Regions from separate parts of the Homo sapiens genome. Here all the other regions are linked to region 1. The links are contacts of gene promoters, found by promoter capture Hi-C in blood cells and fetal thymus (Javierre and others, 2016). All regions are on one chromosome and are shown on one strand. The core of a region is centred on a gene start or on the middle of the fragment in contact, and the rest is flanking DNA. Distances in the headings are between cores, read along the strand shown. Region 1 holds the start of PSIP1 (PC4 and SRSF1 interacting protein 1). Region 2 overlaps PLIN2 (perilipin 2). Region 3 overlaps DENND4C (DENN domain containing 4C).

Region 1 (4,577 bases), core at 1,505-4,004:
AGGTGGAAGGTGGAAGAGTAAGTACTGGGCTGCTTTTCCTTCCAGCATCTTTTCTAATTATAAGCCACTCCTCCTTCAGCCTTGCTGCCTCCCTGCCCCACCTAGAGGCGATGTGGGATCACAAAAATGGCATGGGCAAGTAGCCAGAGGGGCTAGAATGTTGCCTCAGCCCCTGGACTAGATGTGTGATCTTGGGCAAGCTAGCTGCTTACCTTCTGTGAGCTTATTTTCTCATCTGTGAAATGGGGATAGTGGCACTTGGGTTAAATGAGATAATGTAGGCCAAGTTCCTGCCTCAACTCATTTGGATTTTCCTGCCCCCTCCCCTTGCTTCAGTTGTTTTGGAAATTACACTCTTTCTCCTTATAACTTTCCCATTGCTCCTCTGATCTCCATTTTGGTATACTTTTTCAAGTATCCCCACTAAGAAGGCTGACTATGGGAGAGGGCTGCACCAAGCATAGCTGGAAAAGAGCACAGAAAAGCTCTCCCAAGTGGCTAGGATGTGCCCAGCTTTCCTTCCCCGTTCCCTGCCCTCCCCTCCCCTCCCCTCCCCCCCCCTTTCCTCGCAGATTCAGAACTGTTGCTCCCAGGGATCCTGGGCTTTTGTTCTCTGGAAGCTTAAACCACCACCTGTTTTGCCTTTATTGTTTAAAGGGTATCTCCTGTTGTTCACAAACTACCACAGGTTGAAGCGGACAAAACTTAAAGGCAGCAGGAGCTAAGTATGGTACTTCCTTTTTTTAAAACAACAAAAACAACAGAAAATACTAATAGTAAAACATCAATGCTTTTCCATTTTCCCTTTTTTATTTCTTTTCTGAGGTCCCCTCTAACACTAACTACCCCCTCTTTACCTGTTAATCCTACCATTAGTACTAATAAAAAGTTATCTTTAACGTTAATTATAACTTGTTATATATCTGTTTTTCTTAGTTTGAAGTTTTTACAGTCTGAGGTATCCTCTAAAGCAGTTTCTCAAACTTGAATATGCGTAAGAATCACCTAGGGATCCTGTTAAAACGCAGATTATGATTTAGAAGGCCTGGGGAAGGTCTGAGCTTTACCTGAGCTCCCAGGTAAAGCCCTTGCTGCTGGGCCTTGGACCACACTTGAAGTAGCAAGGCCTTACAGGGTTTAGAACAAATAAAGTGCATACACACAAAAAAATGATTGCTGGATGCTGCTTTGGTCTCTCTTACTCTGTATCTTGAGCTTTTCTTCAATACATCTTTTTCCACCTTTTCCTATGCATAATTTATAGCCAACACCTGACAATCATTCCTTTGTGTAATTACTTAGTTGTGCTCTTCCTTCCCTTTTCTTAGTCACCATTCTCACTGAGAAATGCGTCATTTCATGAGTACTCCAGTTACCCCCAGCCTCTTTCTACTAACATCTACCTTGAAACATCAAGAACTGGTTAAATAATCATTTTTACCCCCTTCTTGCTGAGCAACCTATAGTAGCTTCCTACTACACACATTAAATTCATATTCAGAATGAGAAGCTTCAAGACATTTCACCAACCCTTCCTTCTCCTCTGCCAATTTCTCTTTTTGCTCCACTTGGAACTCTCTGCATATTGCCCAGGTATACTTAGTTTCTCGAAACTCCTTACAGGACATTTTACTTTGGGACTGTCTTCTTTCATTCCTTTTTAAAGACATGCTGTATCGCTTTCAAAAAATTCTCAATTTTTACCAATTCAAAAAAAATTTCCTAATTCATTTCCAGTTGAGTCCCGTATTTAAAACAGTATTATCTAGGTGCTAATATATGTCTTATTATTCTTATTTTTATATGTCTTAACATTCTTTTTAAAAATATTTTCAGCCTCTCTAAAGGATCAAAAAATTAACCTTTAAAATCCCTTGAAGAGCATTTTAAGAGAGAAAATATTTGAGGTTTAGTAACACTTACACATTGTACCACCTACCAGCTCCTATTCTACTAGGGAAATAAAATTTAGATGCAGCTAAAATTTAGTTAGGGCCCAAACTCACATCCTATCTAAAAGGTTTCTGTTTTCCTGTCATTGTTTTCTACCCTTCGCATTTTGCATTCAGTAGGGTTGCATTTTTCTTAATAGTTCTTGGTGATGCAAATGCAAAAGAAATGAAATAGGGCTCTCTCATACTACAATTTCAAGGAAAAGGAGACTACGAGGCCCATTCAGCGAGGTGCAAGAGGCCTAGATGCAGCACACCCTGCAACCGCCGCATGCTCCAATTTCATCTTAGGGTTTTCGTACAGCTCCTCTTTTTTGGATGATGCAAACCGCGCAAAAGCAGCATTCAAACCTCCCCACCCTGGAAACGATACAAGAACATGAATCTTTACTGCCACTTTCTCCCTAACACGCAGCCAAGGGAGAGAGGCCCGGATACCCGCCCCCAAAACCGCGTCCACAACAATCATTTCCTCCCTCCCCGCCTTTTACATACAGTACACATACAAATACACACACGCAGAGAAGCCAGCAGGGGCGGGCCGGGCCCGACCACTCCGCAAACCGCAGGGGGAACTTGCGGCAGGCCGAGCTATTTTCGCCCAGTCCTTTCTTCTTCGCTTGCGTCTTCCTCTCCATCTGCATGCACCTGTTACATGAAAGCGAACTTGGGGACGTAGGGTTTCCAGAAAATCCGCTTCGGAGCCACACAGCTTCGCCGGGTGCTGCAACATCCCCCCTCTCTCGGTAAACAGTTGGTCGCGCCCCAGTGCTAGCGGGCGCCGAGCGGGAGCCGCGCGGGAGCAGCGCAGCTACGGCGGCGGCAGCGGCGGCGCGGTTGCGATTCCGAGCCGTTGAGACGCCTCTGCGGCAGCTGGTGGCGCAGGTGGCTTGCGTGGACGCGGGTAGAGGCGACCGGCCAGCAACCGCAGCGTCGGCGCCCGCGGCCCCGGCAGGTGAGCGGGCGACGGGGACTCGCCCCGCCCCCCCCTCGGTGGCGTCGCTCCTGGCTGTAGCGGGGAAGTGGACGCGGCCCGCCCGGGAGCCGAGGGGGCCGAGGCTGCAGCCGCTGGGCAGCAGGTTGCGGGGGAGGCCTTGCGTGGGCGGAAGGGGGCCGCTCGCTTCTCGGAATCCCTGCCTTTTTCTCTCCCATGCACCCCCTCCCTTTTGGGGCTTAAGCTCGGTGGAAAAAGCCCGGAGAAAGATGGGGCGGGCAGACGGGCGATTTCTGGCCGGGCAGCATCCCTGCTTCAGGTGGTGGCGTCTCTTCGGTGGCGGGGTGGAGGACCTGCTCCAGCGCGGAGGCAGCGCACTGGCGGGGGAGGAGCGGGAGGCGGCCGTCCCCTCGCTCTCCCACCCCCACCCGCCGGTTCCCCTCCCCCTCCCCTTGCGGCCCCTCCCTTCGGGGTTCTTCGCTTTAACCGCCCTCGGTGCTCTCCCTAGCAGGCGCGTCGGGACGCCCCGAGGCATCCTCCCCCGCCCGCGGGCCCGGTAGCTGGGCCCGCGTCCGCCGCCCGCATCCCCGCGCCGCCGCATCTCCTCGCCGCCTCCCGGGCTTCGGACCCCCGGTCTCGCCCCCGAAACATGACTCGCGATTTCAAACCTGGAGACCTCATCTTCGCCAAGATGAAAGGTTATCCCCATTGGCCAGCTCGAGTAAGTGATTTGTAGCCCTCGCGCTTAGCAGTGCTACCCTCCTCTCCAGAGGCCTGCTGCCCACCGTGTCTCTTTATTTTTTCTTCTGTCCTTTCTCTCCCTCGCTTTAGTCTCATTTGTAACCTGACCTTTCATTTTAGTTTTTTGCCCAATAATCTCCCGTGTAATTATGAAAATCCAGACGTTTCTACATACCTGTGTATTTCCCTATGGTTTATTGGCAGACTTGGACAGATTTTCTTCCTAGGAAATATTTAAATGCGTTGCTAGTTAATATTCCATTGTAGGTGAAATAATGAAGAGTGAATTTTTGTTTAAAAATTAGTGAAACATTGACATTTCCATAGTTTTGGATCAAGTACAAAATATCAATGGAATTTGTGCAGATTACACACAAACACTTGGATGTCAGAGAAGTGCGTATGTGATTAAATTGGATTTACAGGGTTTTAAAAAAAATACCTTGTACTTGATGAGGCCTTCTGGATTTGCTTGTTTAATACAGATTCAGGACTGGATATTCTTGAAAGTATTACAGTAGTTTAGTACCGAGGAAGGGCCAGAAAATTCATTTCTCCTTTTTTATTTGAGATGTTTATGACCTTGAAGAAGTTGTTTTACCTTTTTGTTTCCAATAGGCAAAAAGGAGGTGTGGACCAGATTCCTCAGTTCACATCTAGTGGTACAGAGAAATGATTAAGGACCCAGGATGTTTTGTGACATTGAGGAATTGAGACTGTTTAAAGATCTACGCTCCATTTTTAGAAAAAGGGTTCTTTTTGTTTATGGTGGTACCCAGGCTCTCAAACAGAGATAGATAGGACCTAAGATATGTTGCAATCAATTAGATTAGGTAAACTCAAGATCCTTTAAAAATATACTTACATGGGGTTCTGAAGTTTTATTTTTCCAAGCCATTTATTTTCGACTAATTTACTGTCCTTTGAAAATGTATTTCTTAAAAATAATT
Region 2 (4,195 bases), core at 1-2,500, 3.6 Mb before region 1:
CTCCCAAAGTGCTGGGATTACAGGCGTGAGCCACCGCGCCTGTCCACAGAAGGCCTGTTTCATAGCTTTGGCAGATGTTTATGATCCTTTAATTAAAAATCCCCCAGAGGATGGGCACGGTGGCCTGCACCTGTAATCCTAGCACTTTGGGAGGTCTAGATGGGAGGATCGCTTGAGGCCTGGAATTTGAGACTGCTCACTGCAGTCTCTGCCTCTCGGGCTCAGGTGATTGTCCTGCCTCAGCTCCCTGAGTAGTTGGGATTACAGGCATACACCACCATGCCCAGCTAATTTTGTATTTTTAGTAGAGACAGGGTTTTGCCATGTTGGCCAGGCTGGTCAGGAACTCCTGACCCCAGGTGATCCGCCCGCCTCGGCCTCCCAAAGTGCTAGGACTACAGGTGTGAGCCACCATGCCTGGCCATGAATGAGTTTTAGAAATGGATAGTGGTGATGGTTGTATAATGTTGTAAATGGACTTAATGCCACTGAATTGCACAGTTAAAAATGGTTGAAATGGTGAAATTTGTTATGTATATTTTACCGAAATAAAGAATAGAAATGTCATACTCCATGAGAAATCTCATACTCTCATACTTAGTAGTCACTCCCCATTTCCTAACAACCACCCTGAGGCAGCTACTCATCTACTTTGTCTTTATAGATTTGCCTATGCTGGATATTTCTTATAAATGAAATCATAAAATGTGTGGGTTTTTTTGTGATTGGCTTCTTTCGTTAAGCATAATGTTTTCAAAGTTAATCTGTCTTGTCACATCATATCAGTACTTCATCTCTTTTTATTGTTGAATAGTAATTTACTGTCTAGACAGACAATATTTATTCATTCTTCAACTGATGGATGTTTGGGTTCGTTCTACTTTTGGAGATTATGTATAATGCTTCTGTGAACATTTGTATACAAGTTTTTGTGTGGACATGTTTTCAGGTTTTTTTGGTATATACCCAGGAGTGGAATTGCTGGGTTATATAATAACTGTTTAAGCTTTTGAGGAGCTGCCAGACTGTTTTCCAAATCAGCTGTACCATTTTACATTCCCACCAACACTGTATGGAGGCTCCAATTTCTCCACAACATGAACTGCTTTTGAATAAAGATTTAAATCATTCTTTCAAATGGTTAAGCCAGGGACTTTTAGGATTATAAGGAGCCTTTAGAGACCAGCCATTCCAACTCTGCTACTTCCTAAATGAATTTGGTACTAGTACTTGGTTTGGTATTCTTAGTGGGAAGCTCACACTAAAATCTCCCTTGTTAGGGAGATCCAGGGTGGTCTTGGCATACTCTTTCCTCCTGAGGACCCCAAATACACTGACCTGTGCTGAAGTAAGCGTAGGTAGGGATTAAACTAGCATGGGAATGCCGATTTTGAGAGAGTTTCCAGATACCTTATTCTCTGAATGACAGTTCAGGGAAAGCCCGGCTACTCTTGGCATTAACATTAGGGGCCAGTTGATAAGGAAGAAGCTTCAGAGCCAGCTTCCTGTTTGGCCTGTCACTGCCTCTGCCTGCTCCTCCCTCACACCCCCATATTTCCTTACCTTTAGAAGAGAGTTGCCAGCAACTTGCCAGGCCTCTTCCTGTCAGAACTAGATAAACCAGGCAATGCCTTCTGTTGTATAAGATCAACATTCTTGCCTTTTTTTTTTTTTTTGAGATGGAGTCTTGCTCTGTCACCCAGGCTGGAGTGCAATGATGCATCTTGGCTCACTGGAACCCCTGCTTCCTGAGTTCAAGCGATTCTCCTGCCTCAGCCTCCTGAGTAGCTGGGACTACAGGCGCACACCATCACGCCCAGCTAATTTTTGTATTTTTAGTAGAGACGGGGTTTCACCATGTTGGCCAGGATGGTCTCGATCTCTTGACCTCGTGATCCGCCTGCCTCAGCCTCCCAAAGTGCTGGGATTACAGGCGTGAGCCACCGTGCCCAGCCCATTATTGCCATTTTTTATAAGGCCTATGGTAATGTGTGTTCATTCTATACCTATAGTACTACATTAACATTTTCCCATTTGTGATTCTAGTTGCAGTTGCCAATACCTATGCCTGTAAGGGGCTAGACAGGATTGAGGAGAGACTGCCTATTCTGAATCAGCCATCAACTCAGGTGAGCTTGGGACAAAAGTGCTGAGACTTGACACTTCACATGTTTTCATCTTCTATCTGTTAAAACAAGCTGTACATATCACAAACAGGCAAATACTTGTTTTCCCAACCTGGATCTGGATGTATGTTTGAAAAATAATGGCCACTTCCTTACTTCCTGAACTGTTGTCAAGTTGTATCTACGAAGCAGAGAAGAACTAGCCTCCTTTGGATTAGAAAACTTTTAGTGTGTTGTCTATCAGTTTGTGTCTTTGCTCCTATAAATGAAATTGCTGTCTCAAGTAACTGATTGTCTTGTGGTATTAAATAAATGCAGACGTGATATATATAACCTTTTCTCACCTGGCTTGTACAATGCTGCCAGGAACTACCATCCATATGGGATAGCTAGCCAGTGTTGACAAAAATGATAGGCTTGTCTGTCCTGGTGATCCTTTGGTTCAGATAATGTCCTAAAATTTTGTTTCAAATTAAGAATACAGAATGGCACAAAAGGATACCAGTTAGGGAAAAATATAGCTCTGTGTCTTTTCATAATCTAAATACAGTCATCTGTCACTTAGTGATGGGAATATATTTTGAGAAATGCACATTAGGTGATTTTGCCATTGTGTGAACATCACAGAGTATACTCACACCAACCTAGATGGTAGAGCCCAGTGGTCCCCAAGCTTTATGGCACCAGGAACTGGTTCCATGGAAGACAGTTTTTCCATGGACCAGCAGGGGGTGGGTGGTGTTTTTGGGATGATTCAAGTGCACTATATTTATCATTAGATTCTCATAAGGAGCATGCACGTGCACAGTTCACAAGAGGGTTAGGGTTAGGTCTCCTATGAGAATCTAATGCCGCCTCTGACTGGTAATGGACTGGTAATGGACTGGTAATGGTCCATGGCCCGGGGGTTAGGGACTTGTGGTGTAGCCTGCTATATACCTAGGCTATATGGTGTATAGCCTGCTATATACCTAGGCTATATGGTGTATAGCCTGCTATATACCTAGGCTATATGGTGTATAGCCTGCTATATACCTAGGCTATATGGTGTATAGCCTGCTATATACCTAGGCTATATGGTATATAGCCTGTTGCTTGCTTCTAGGCTACAAACCTGCACAGCATGACTACACTGACTACTGTAACACAATGATAAGTATTCGTGTATCTAAACTAGAAAAGGTACAGTGAAAAAAAAAAGTATACCTGTTATAGGGCAGTTCATTATAATCTTATGGGACTATCATTGAATAGTGGTCCATCGCTGACCAAAATATTATGTGGTACACAACTATAGGTAGGTTTAGTGTATAGCCTTTAGAATGCTTGTGCAAATCTTTTAAATTTTTCACTTACATTGCTTGAGACTGTGCTAATGGTGAGAGTTATTTTCCATTTCGGATATTTTCTTTAAATGTTGGTAACTTGTGTTCTTTTTTTTTTTTTTTTTTTTTTTTTTGAGACAGAGTCTTGCTCTGTCACCCAGGCTGGAGTGCAGTGGCACAATCTCGGCTCACTGCTGTCTCTTCCTCCTGGGTTCAAGCAATTGTCCTGCTTCAGCCTCCCCAGTAGCTGGGTTCACAGGCACGCCCCGCCACACCCAGCTAATTTTTTTTGTCATTGTTTGTTTGTTTTTGAGACAGAGTTTTGCTCTTGTTGCCCAGGCTGTAGTGTAATGGTGCAATTTTGGCTCACTGCAACCTCCACCTCTGGGGTTCAAGTGATTCTTCTGCCTCAGTCTCCCAAGTAGCTGGGGTTACAGGCATGTGCCACCACGCCCAACTAATTTTTTGTATTTAGTAGAGACGGGGTTTCACCATGTTGGTGAGGCTGGTCTCGAACTCCTAACCTCAGGTGATCCAACCAACTCAGCTTTGCAAAGTGCTGGCATTACAGGCATGAGCCACCATGCCCTGCCATGTATAATAACTGCATACTAATAACACCCCGAGGGCCAGGTATAGTTTGATCTTCAGTTTCCTCTCTGGATTTGTGTGACTTTGGAATAAGCTATATAACTTACCTTCTTTTCTTTTCTTTTTTTTTCTTTTCTCTTCTCTTTTTTTTTT
Region 3 (4,553 bases), core at 100-2,599, 3.9 Mb before region 1:
CTCTTCAGAATGGCATGGAACTTAGGGGAAATGATGAGGACTATTAATCTTTTTTATATAGTTTATTTTTGAGGAATATAGCTCTTTAAAGCACTATACACAATTTAATACATGAAAATTGACCTTGTGAAGATGAACATGTCTTTTTTAAAAGGTAACTTTTAAGGCATAGTTTTAGTGGATACCTAGTTTTAGTGGATACCATCCACTAAATGGTTTTTAAGCCATTTCAAATTTGTTTTAACAAAGCTTTTCAACTCCAGTGAATTGTTAGGCTGTTCACACACTGAAAAGGAAATGACTAAAAACATTCTTGGATCAGTGAAAAATGCACAAAGTATGTACTTTTTTCTAACAGTTCTATGCTGACTAGCCTATTGTGACAATATCAGGATCTTTAGAAGGTGGCACATTAGGCTTTAAGGTTGAAGTAATGCAAGCTCTTTGTTGGCATTACTGTAATAATAGCTTTACAAAGCAGAGTTCTAAATGTTAAATGTACATGTGAATCACCTAGGGGTCTGGTTAAGGCGCAGATAGTGATTGATAGAGGAGTGGGGACCCACATTTTTACATTACTAAAAAGCTCCCAGGTGTTAGGCCGGTAGTGCCAGTCCCTCGATGCCTACTAAGATTCTTAACTATTCCTCTTACTACATGGTGTTAAAAAGCTACATAACATGAAAAGAATCTTAGTTGGCAATCAATAATAATATGCAGAACTTAAAAGGCAAAGGGGATGGCCAGGTGGGGAGGCCAAGGCAGGTGGATCACCTGAGGTCAGGAGTTCAAGACCAGCCTGGCCAACATGGTGAAACCCCGTTCCTACTAAAAATACGAAAATTAGCGCATGCCTGTAGTCCCAGCTACTCGGGAGGCTGAGGCAGGAGAATCGCTTGAACCAGGGAGGTTGAGGTTTCAGTGAGCCAAGATTACACTGTTGTACTCCAGCCTGGGCGACAGAGCAAGACTCCCATCTCAAAAAAAAAAAAAAAAAAAAATTTAGCACAAGCAGAGAGAGGAACTTAAAAGCCACAAGGTGAGTCCAGTGTTATGGTCCAAAGTTTTATATTAACCAGTTCTTGTTTATGATGCACAAAACATGAGAACCGCCCTGCTTTCTGAAAATTGAGTGCAGCCACAAAATAAGGACAGTCTGTTTTTCCTTAGATTTTTTTTTTTCTTTGACACAGGGTTTCACTCCTACGCCCCGGATGGCGAGCAGTGGTATGGCTCACTGCAGCCTTGACCGCCTGGGAACTACAGGTGTGCACTGCGGCTAGTTTTTGTGCTTTTTGTAGAGTTTTGCTATGTTACCCAGGCTACTCTTGAACTCCTGGGCTCAAGTGATCCGCCTGCCTTGGCATCCCAAAGTGTTGAGATTACTACAGGCGTGAGCCACCATACCCAGTTCTCCACACACACGCAAGTCATTCTGACATGTCGTTAACTATGCAGGTTGTGATCAACCTGTACAATTCGTTCGTTGGAAGAAAAAAAAATCGCTATCGAACCCCAAACCAATATAAGGTACTGCTGAGTAATCTGGACTAATTTGAAAGATTGCTTTTAGAAGTTATCAGGATTAAAGTTGCATACAGTGCTACAAGTCATTCCAGGTACTTCTAAATCTTTCCATAATAATGTTTTTGTCTTGTAAATTTTTAGTGGTACCCTCTCTGTGGTGGGTATTGGAAAAAGCCTTTAAAAATTTATAACAAGAAATCAGTCCCAATATCTAAATGGCAGCAGCAGACTAAAGTTTTCAAGGTAGAGATCTTTACAGATTTTTTTTAATGGGAAGCGCGTCAGTAAGTGAAAACTTGAGTTCAAGTTACGAGTGAAGGAATGGAAAAAACAAAATATTGGGATTCTAAAGATTACAGATTTCAAGAGGCTTAATGTAACAGAAAACAACAATTTTTCATTTTATTCAACCTCAATTTTTATATGCAAGGTAATTCCAAACTTCTGTTGGGTCAGTAAGTGTTAAGTATTAAAACTAGTACCAAGTCTTGAGTTGCAAAAATATATACTCTCAGACAGTGCAAAAGATCCATTTTGAAGGTAATGAAAATTGTACATAATTTCTGACAAATTGTTTCATTTAGCATTTTCACAATAAATTCACACTAGAATTCTGCATAGGTCAGATTAACCCTGAAATGTTGAAAGACTGGTACAATAACTATAATTTGTAAATGGTTACATCAGGTAGAAGGGAGTTAGGTTGTTACTGTACCATATGGAAGTAATTTTACTGTGTCAACTCATTTAGTCATCTGCATAATTACTGTAAACACACACAAAACCAATGGCTTTTTAAACCATGCAGAGAGTTAAGGCAAACTTACTGTTCCTAAGGGATATTTTTAATAAAAGGCATGATAAATGTCAAAGTGAGGCATGTGAGATCATGATTTTCTTAAACCTACTGGCAACAAGCTTAATAAATTTACAGTTTTAAGACTTAATTGATTCAACCTAAAAACACAGTATTTACAAATGCACATTTTTACTCACAAGCATACAAATCTAAATATACAAGAATAAAACTTCCGTGTGCAGTGCAAGTTTATCCCACAGGTTTTAAAAAGTCATCAATACCAACAATGTATGTGCCTGAAAAAAGATTTCATGTTCAATGACATACACTTTAGCATTTTAAGCACATTCCAATGAATTCCATAAATTATTAGGCAGCTGATTTAATTTCATTTTAACTATCTGATGATTGATTCATTTGTTCCCATTTTAAAACTATTGCAAATTAACATTGGGAAGAGGATGGAAGTAACTGGATAATCAAGATAAAACCCATTAAGCAAGATAATACATAATATGAAAGGTGTATTATGTTGGTACAAAAATAATTGCGGTTTTTGCCATTAATAGTGGCAAAAACTACAATTAATTTTGTGCCAACCTAATACATTAAAGTTAGGGAAGGCAGCTGTCATCAGATTTTCAGGTAATTTTAAGATTAATGACTACAGACAAGTTTAGTAGTAGTCATTTATTTAATAGTCAATGAGACCCCTTTCAGAAAACCGTATTGCAACATGCAATCTATTTTAATAAATATACACTTAGAATATGGCTGTATATACACATACCTACACAGCCCTACACATATACAAACTTACACAAATATGTTGCTCTCTTTTTTTTTTTTTTTTTTTTTTGAGACGGTCTCACTCTGTCACCCAAGCTGGAGTTGCAGTGGCGTGATCTCCACTCACTGTAGCCTCTGCCTCAGTTCAAGCGATTCTCCTGCCTCAGCCTGAGTAGCTGGGACTACAGTGGTGCGCCTGGCTAATTTTTGTATTTTTAGTAAAGACAGGGTCTCACCGTGTTGGCCAGGCTGGTCTCGAACTCCTGGCCTCAAGTGATCCACCCACCTTGCTCAGCCTCCCAAAGTGCTGGGATTACAGGCCTGAGCCACCGTGCCCGGCCATGTTGCTTTTATAATTGAGATATTTCATTTGTTTTGGGGGTTAGGCAAATTTAATTTGCCATTCCTCAAACTCAGTAACTTCAAATATAAACAATGCCTAGAATGAATATGGTTCCTCATTATTTCTATCAAACTACTACAAATACTGAAGAATCCCAAAGTAGTTTTCCACAGAGGCAGAAAAGCAGTTCAGGGGTTGAAAATCTTCAATATTAATAAGCCCTGGGACATTCAAATGGCACTTCATATTTCAAGGTAATGCAATATGAATCATAATTCATTATATATTGTCCCCAAGAGTTACTTCAATTCCGTATTCACCAGTTCTTACGATTTGGAAAAAAAAACTTGAATGTTTCCAGATGAAATCTAATCCCCAAGCCTTGTGTGTCAACATTCTAGTGAATCTCTATTTAAATGAGAGGCGCTCCAAAACACTTCCTGCACCACTCGACACTGGCACTTGGTGGAGCATCAATTTTCTGCAACCTTTCAAGAATCTCTGAAGACAGACTATTGTATGCAATTCCATATTCATTGTCAAATGCCTCTGAAAGAAATTTTCAAAAATGAAGTTGTAATTTGTTAAGAAAGACAACAGCCGTTCATTTCAAATTGGTATTGAGTCAAATTATATGTATTTGAACTATATATTTAGAAGTAGAAATCTTTTAAATCTTTTATACATACCAGCTACATTTTTAAAAATTACTTTTGAAAATAAAATGTAAAACTTCCTTTCATAATCTTTTATTAACCAACTTACCAATATCAATATTCTCTCTTCCTAGAGACACTAATGATAAGAAGAGGATTTCTCTGTATAAACTCCTATAAAACAAATATGTTTTAAAAGTCAATGGGCAAATAGCATAAAAACACAGATGCATTTTTTTTAATGGTGAAGACATTAAGTTCTGTCATCTAGTTAATAGTAATATAACTATGTCAATGTCCTGGTTTTAATATTACATTACAGTTAGTTATATGAGGTGTCACATTTGGAGGAAGCTGTGTGAAGGCTACATTGAATTCTGTACTATTTTTGTAACTTCCTGCAGGTTTCTATTCCAAATTAAAGTTAAAACATAGTTAA

What was found. Contacts are between HindIII fragments. The CHiCAGO score rates a contact against its expected background, and 5 or more counts as called.
Region 2: a fragment that was not itself captured here is called in contact with the fragment with the promoter of PSIP1 in region 1 in 1 of 17 cell types (total CD4 T cells); the score reaches 5.8 in total CD4 T cells.
Region 3: a contact is called between a fragment that was not itself captured here and the fragment with the promoter of PSIP1 in region 1, in 2 of 17 cell types (total CD8 T cells and total CD4 T cells). The highest score is 7.1, in total CD8 T cells.

Annotation. Positions count from the first base shown.
Region 1 is chr9:15,509,147-15,513,723 of GRCh38, reverse strand. PSIP1 (PC4 and SRSF1 interacting protein 1) reads left to right here and starts at 2,754. Exons shown (of 16, transcript NM_033222.5): 1 at 2,754-2,907; 2 at 3,395-3,607. The coding sequence starts at 3,536. RefSeq lists enhancers at 464-1,082, 1,735-2,687, 2,688-3,641 and silencers at 2,769-2,848, 2,869-3,078, 3,089-3,148, 3,279-3,328, 3,429-3,628. The HindIII fragment of the contact is 3,241 bases long and covers 1,513-4,577 here.
Region 2 is chr9:19,121,499-19,125,693 of GRCh38, reverse strand. It overlaps PLIN2 (perilipin 2), which reads left to right. Exons shown (of 8, transcript NM_001122.4): 4 at 2,047-2,129. Among named protein-coding and RNA genes, the nearest start is that of PLIN2, 3.9 kb to the left of the region's middle. RefSeq lists an enhancer at 1,409-1,703. The HindIII fragment of the contact is 483 bases long and covers 1,009-1,491 here.
Region 3 is chr9:19,371,491-19,376,043 of GRCh38, reverse strand. It overlaps DENND4C (DENN domain containing 4C), which reads right to left. Exons shown (of 33, transcript NM_001330640.2): 32 at 4,224-4,288; 33 at 1,763-4,007. The coding sequence ends at 3,871. RPS6 (ribosomal protein S6) reads left to right here. Exons shown (of 6, transcript NM_001010.3): 6 at 1-329. Among named protein-coding and RNA genes, the nearest start is that of RPS6, 6.5 kb to the left of the region's middle. The HindIII fragment of the contact is 2,196 bases long and covers 252-2,447 here.